Regions from separate parts of the Homo sapiens genome. Here region 1 is linked to region 2. Evidence: promoter capture Hi-C in 16 types of primary human blood cells and fetal thymus (Javierre and others, 2016). All regions are on one chromosome and are shown on one strand. Each heading gives the region's core, a stretch centred on a gene start or on the middle of the fragment in contact. The rest is flanking DNA. Distances are from core to core; before and after follow the strand shown.

Region 1 (3,451 bases), core at 231-2,730, 150 kb before region 2:
ATTGCCTATGCCTGGTTGATGTTTTTATTCCCTGAAAATTTAATCCTAGCAGTGAAGCCATTCATATTCTCAACAGTAGAGGTCCTCAGTACCATAGTTCTTCAGCAAAGATGCTGAAAAAAAAAATTCTCCAAACCTTGAATTATTTGGCGTTTATGGTTGCTTATGGAACTTAAGTCATTTTATGGATACAATTGTCTATTTTTTATGTCATTAATAAACAAAAAAATTTAGTCCTCATGGTCCGATCTTGGCTTAAAATTTCACAGTCTTTTGTAACAGCTGAAATAATGTGTCAAAAATCAGTTAACAGTGAAATAATTTGAAAAAATATATATAAAGCATTCTCTTAAAGCTTTGGGATAAAAAGACCATGAGAAAATGTTTAGAGAAGATGTTGAAATTTGTTGTGATGAAAGTAAACAGTGATTTTTTGGGAAAGATGGGGGGTGTTGGTTCTGTTTTTCTAAAAACTATCAATTTATGTCTTGTCTATTGTGTTTAGAACTATAGAGCTATAAGATACTTAGGGTTTTTTTGTTTTCTTTGTTTTTTGTTTTTGTCCCAGGGATATTTATTTGAATTTTCTACCTGTAAACACAATTTGCTAACAGCTCCATTTACCCTTTCTTTTCACCAAAATTTGACATTGTCCTTAATCCTCCCAATTCTTTATTCTCCATATAACAATCAGGAAATTTTATCATTTCTACCTCCTATATATTGCATGTCCCATTTTCCATCTCTCGGGCCCCCATTGCCCTAGTTTGGGTCCTTAACTTGGTTGTTATAATTTTCTTCTATCCAGTCTTCCTATTTCTAGTTTCATATCTTTTTAAACCATTCATTGCATATTTATAAAACTGTCTTCCTAAAATGCCATTTCCCTGCTTAACACTTCCAGTGGTTTTCCATCACTGCTGAACAAAGCACAAATTTCCTAGCATAGCCTGCCTGTTCCTTTATAACCTTGTCCCTAACTACCTCTCCAGCTCTATTGTTTTCTTCCCTTTTTACCATAGCCCTCAGATCTGTATTCCAACCACACACTGAACTGAACTACTAAGAGTTTCTCAGATGCATCAAATTGTTTCAACCTTTCTGTCTTCGCATGCTGTTTTTCTCCTGAATATTACTATTCTTTCTTCCCTTATTCCTTGTTTACCTGACCAGTACCTAATTCTTCCTTTAAGATCCAGGCCAAGTTATCTTTTGCATTGTAAAACATTTCCTGAACCTCAGGCATTACCTTCTTTGTGCCAACATTCTATATATTCTTCCACTGCCATAGACCCGGTAGTATACTAGCTATTTCTCCTGCTAAACCAATGATTCTCAGTGGTGACAGAGAGTGTGCTGGGGGCAGTGCAATTTTGCCCATCAGAGGACATTTGGCAATGACTGGATCCATTTTTTATTGTCACAGCAATGGGGTGGTGGTGGTGCTACTGGCATCTATTGGGTAGAGGCCAGAGATGCTGCTGAACATCTTCTCATGGCCAGGACAACCTCCCACAACAAAGAATTATCCAGTCAAACATGGGTAGTACCAAGGTTGGGAAACTCTGTGTCAGACCTTAAAATTGTATCTTTTTAAAAAACTTTGAATCCTTAGAACCTAGAACAATGCCAAGCAAAAATTAGGCACTAAATAAATATTGGTTGAAGGAGTGAAAAATTCCATAGAGTTATCTAAAGGGAATCCATTCAAGGATTTTAAAAATATATTATTTGGAAAAATAACCAGAGCCCAAATTCAATCACATTCAAAAGTATAATTTGACATTTATCTTAAAATTTCCTTAATAATGCATAGAAAGACTAGATTAAGATTTTGAACTGATTATATGCCTGTTTCTCCCAAAAAAGTCATAAAATGTCAAAAAACAAGAAAAAGTCTATCAGATTACATATTTTGAAGAACTCCTGAAAGAGACCATAGCCGATGGAAGGGAGGAAATAATCAAAGAAATAATAGAAGAAAATTTCCCAGGTCTGAAGGCAGATGGAAAGGGCCTGCATCGTGGGCTTACCTCAAAATACCAAGAATAAAGACAGGAAAAACCATCTACAAAAGCGTAGATTTTACATTGGCATTTCATGTCTAATTACTAGGACTAGATACCAAAATTATATTGAGATGAAATAATAGCTCAATATAATGAGGGAATATTATCTTAAAACTAAAATATTATTCCTAGTTAATTAATATTTACATAGTGAGACAAAAATTAAGACATTTGCAGACACAGTAAGACTTAGAAGTTTACCACCCACAAATTTTCTCTTTAGAGAATTACTAAAAGACATAAGCCATCCCAACCCCTGCCAAAAAAGGAATTCAGAGGACTATAAGAGATATCAGAAACAAACGGTAAGCAAAGAAGTAAAACCTAGAATAAGTCTGATGATATTCAAGCATAATGAAAAATAGTTAACAACAACCTGGAACTAAAGTACCAGATGACTTCAATGTGTGAAGTAGAAGAAGAAAGACAAAAGTACAAGAAAGAAGATGAATGTTTGCTAAGATTCGTGTTGGGGCCAAGAGGTGCCTAGATATATACACAAATGATTTTAAAAAGAGAAAAATTAGAAAGCTTAATGTAAAATGTAAAAGAATCCATTAGGAAAATGGAATATATAGTTTCCAAAACAATAAATAAAGGGAAAAAGAAGAAATAAATAAATCCAACAGAAGACAATAAAAAAAGAAACAATAGTAAATAGAAAACATAAAGTGAGGTAGCAAGATTAAGTCAAAATATACCGGTATTCTTAATAAATGTAAACCTGTTAAATTTTCCAATTAAAGGACAGAAAATCCAATTAGGTTTTAAAAAAATCTTGTCATATGTTATTTACAAGATTCATATATAAGATAAAATGATGAAGAAAAGTTTGAAGTGAAGAAATGGAAAAATCTATCCCAGATAAATGTTAAAATAAGGAAGCAGATATAGTAATATTAATTTCAGACAAAATACTAGTTTTAGTGTAAAAGATGAAAAACGACAAAAGGGACAAGGATTTTTCATTTTGGTAAAAATATAATCCATCAAGAAGAAATAAGAATTTTGAACTTTTATGAACAAGAACATAGCTTTAAAATATACATTATTCAGTAACAATTGACAGAAATACAAGAAGAAATTCACAAATCCATAATTAAAGTGTAAGAGTCTAACAACTCTCTCTGAGAAATCAGATGATCATGTACACACACAAAGTAAAGACATAAGGATTTAAACTAACAATCAAACAAACAAATCTAAACAATACACATAGAACATTATACCCAGGAAAAGCATAATACATTTATCTTCAAACATCCATGGAAGATTCTCAAAATTCAGCCATGTATTAAATTGTAAGGGAAATATTAATAAATACCAGAAAAACAGAAATCTTATGTGACATGAATTTCCAATCACAATTCAATAAAATTAGT
Region 2 (3,185 bases), core at 138-2,637:
CCGTGCAGTTCGGGGGAAGAGGGTGAACCCGAGGCCTGGATTCTCGGTGGCTGAGTCGAAGGGTGGAGGGGCCGGGGCTGTGGCTTTCTTCAGGCTTTAAGGCCTGGGGCGGCGGATGCGTCCAGGGCTCGGATGCCCGCGGTGGAGAAAGGGCTCCCAGCCCGGTGAGGCGGAGGGCTCGGCTGACCCGGGGCTCGCTGCCAGGAACCGAGCAACCAGCGTGGGGTTAGCTGGGCCCAGGTCCCACTAGGGGCTTCGGGGTCGGAGCAGAGTCTGAGAGAGGCTGAATTTCCCCCGAGCTCGGAGACGGACCCGGACGCAGAAGAGCGAGAGCGCGGGGCGGAGGAGACCGCCAGGGCCAAGCCGCGGGGCCTCCTCTGCGCTGGGACTCAGAACGGTTGGGGCTATTCTTTAGCAGTATGTTTTCGTTTTATTTCATTCGGAGGATTTTAGCGTTTTTGTTTTAAAAAAAAATCGCTCCGGTGCCAAACGAGAAAAGTCAACTTGGTTGTCCGTGGGAGCGAAGCGTGGCGTCAGGGCCAGAACCTGGAGCCGGGAGCCGGGAGCCGGGAGTCCCCAGCTCTGCTCTGATCCGTGCAGTCCCGTGCCCCAGCCCGCCCGCCCGCCCGCGCGCCTTCCAGCCGGCCGGCAGCCCTACCTCCCGGACTTGGTGATGACCATCTCCGTGCCTAGCTTGTGGAACTGGTCCCACAGCTCCTTGGCCTCCAGCGTCACCTTGGGGTCGTCCTCCACCTCGTCCTCGGGCTCCAGGCTCTTGAGGGAGCGCAGATGCGCGGCGGGCGGGTGCGGGCCCAGTGCCGAGACGTGCAGCCCCGCCTCGGCCGCTGCTGCCGCCGCCGCCGCCGCGGCCGCCGCCCCCGCCAGGCCCGGGTCGGGCAGCGGCTTGGCCAGCGCGCCGGGCGGCAGCGCGAGTGCCGGGAAGAAGGAGGGCTGCGCCGCCGCCAGAAAGGCGGACATGGGGAAGTCGGCGGGCCGTGGCGCGTGGAACGGGTGGTAAGCCATGGCGCTGGCCGCCAGCGCCGGCTCTCTCATCGGGACATCCGGCCCAGGCGCCCGGGGGCCGGGGCCGGGGCCGGGGGCGCGCGGCTCGGACCCCCGGCCCGGGCGGCGGCGCGCGCGGTGGACGGACGACCCGGGTGGCGGGCGCAGCAGCTGCTCCTCGGGGCTTCCCGTCCGGCGCACCGCAAGGGGCACCCGGCTCTGTGCGCGGGGGCGGCGGGGGCTCTGCGCGGGGCCGGGCTGGGCCGGGCTGAGCTGGCCCGCTCCGGCGCCGGGGACCACGCGCGACTGGTTAGATCTTGTCGTGATCTCTGGAAAACTGTGACTATCTCACATGTCCTGCCCAGCTCGGATCCCCTGCGCTAACGAGCCAGGCCCCCCTTGATTGCTGATTTTACGCTTTTTGGACCAATTGTGGGTCTCCGGGGGCGGGGTTTTGACAGCTCAGGCCAAGCTCCGGCCGGGAGGGGGGGCCTGGGAGAAGGTGTCGGAAGCCTCAGCAGTAAGAAAACATGTCAACAGAATAAAATATTAACCAATGACGGGCCGCCGGGCCCCGAGACCCCTCCTCCTGCCCCGGCCCCCACCGCCCGCCCGCGCCTGCGGCTGCCTGCGCCGGACTGGAGAGCGCGGAGGGCCGACCTGACCCGCCGAAAGGGCCTGAGGCGAGGGGAGCCCGGGTCCCGGGGCCTTGGGGAAGGACCCGCAGCCGCACGCCGGCCCCAAGTGCAAAGCATTGACACGACCCCGAGCGGAGAGGGGGCGCCCTCCTTCTCCCGCGCCCAGAGGCCCGGCCGCTCTGGCCCGAGCCCCAGCCTGGCCTCCGACCCAGCTCCGGGTCGTGGCGCCGCCTGGGGGTCCCTGCGCCCCGGAAAGAGACAGCAGGCACTGGAAAGCGAGGCCGGTGGGCGGGCGAGTCGGGAGGCTCGGGCGGCCGAGGTCCGGGAGCGGATCCCAGGTGGCGGGAGCTGGTGAGTGGAGCCATGGCCGAGCCCTGCTGGGGCCGGCGCGGGCGGGAGCGGGACGCGGCCTTGCGCTGGGGAAACGCGGGGACCCCCTACCCGCGCCCGCCTTCACCGGAAGACTCGGAAGGAACCTGGAGTTCTCCGCAGGCCCGGGCCCCGCCCTGAGCTTTCCAGCGGCCGGGAGGAGCGGATCCTCGGGGCCAGGAAGGTGAGCGCACCTTTCGCTGAGCACAGGGCGGCACCGCGCGGGCGGACCCCGGATTCTCCACCCGCGACCCAACGAATTTTCGCCCTATCCGGTACCGGAGACGAAAGTCTCCTTCTTCCGAAATACCGGCTTCCTCTCTTCGCCCTGCCAACCACTTTTTTAGTTTCTTCTCATCTCTCGGAAGCGCACGTCTCCTAAGTTAAGGAGTGCTGAGTAACGCGTGAGGGAGTTGGGGTGTCTGCGAGCACCTGTGATTGAAGCCCCCTCTTCTGTGATCAGTCTTCGTTTTCTGTCTTCCGGCAGCCTCAGTTTCCCCCCCATGAAGTGATGGTGTGTGTGTGTGTGTGTGTGTGTGTGTGTGTGTGTGTGTGTGTGTCGGGCCCCGTGTGGTGCCCTCTGTGCGCAGCGAGAGCTATAACTCAAGGTGTGCACGGGGAGAGTGAAGCGACCACGCACCTGCTTCCAATCGGGCTCGGGCGCGAACACTCAGGCTGATTCCTGAAGGTCGTTTTCTGAAGGAAAAGACAGAGCATGCACTAGCCACGGGTGACATTCCCACCCGTACAACCGCGTGGTGGGCGCGTACATCCAACATTGACCCATGCAGGCGCCCGCCCACTGCGCACACCGGTCGCAGGGCACTTCGTTGTTGAACGTTGGGAGCAGCGTTTGAAGGCCGGATCTCTCCTGGCAGTGCGGATTCGGGACCGGCGGAAGCAGTATGGCCTCTGCGACCGTTATCCCTACTTTTCGGGGCCGACCCCAGGGCCCTCACAACTCCTCATCACCGCATATGTGAGCGCCGCCCCCACAGGGTTTTCTCCACGACCTCGTTCTTGGCTAGGTCGCACCTCTCTTAGTACCTCCTCTCTGGCCAGAACGAATCTTTGACTCCGAGCTGCGCAGTCTACGCAGACGGGGCAGGATCCACTGCAGTTTTCCACAGGCAAATACCTGCTGGCTCCACCTTAGGCGAGATGTGGCCTCTCGGG

The links. The method cuts DNA at HindIII sites, captures the fragments that hold promoters and counts their contacts. A CHiCAGO score of 5 or more calls a contact.
Region 1: a contact is called between a fragment that was not itself captured here and the fragment with the promoter of TBX2 in region 2, in 5 of 17 cell types (M0 macrophages, M2 macrophages, M1 macrophages and 2 more). The highest score is 9.1, in M0 macrophages.

What each region holds. Positions count from the first base shown.
Region 1 is chr17:61,547,983-61,551,433 of GRCh38, reverse strand. No RefSeq gene overlaps it. Among named protein-coding and RNA genes, the nearest start is that of NACA2, 42 kb to the left of the region's middle. The HindIII fragment of the contact is 2,245 bases long and covers 358-2,602 here.
Region 2 is chr17:61,398,045-61,401,229 of GRCh38, reverse strand. TBX2 (T-box transcription factor 2) reads right to left here and starts at 1,387. Exons shown (of 7, transcript NM_005994.4): 1 at 659-1,387. The coding sequence starts at 1,053. It overlaps TBX2-AS1 (TBX2 antisense RNA 1), which reads left to right and starts at 1,624. Exons shown (of 2, transcript NR_125751.1): 1 at 1,624-1,991. RefSeq lists a cis regulatory region at 1,303-1,314 and promoters at 1,303-1,550, 1,170-2,430. The HindIII fragment of the contact is 11,976 bases long and covers 1-3,185 here.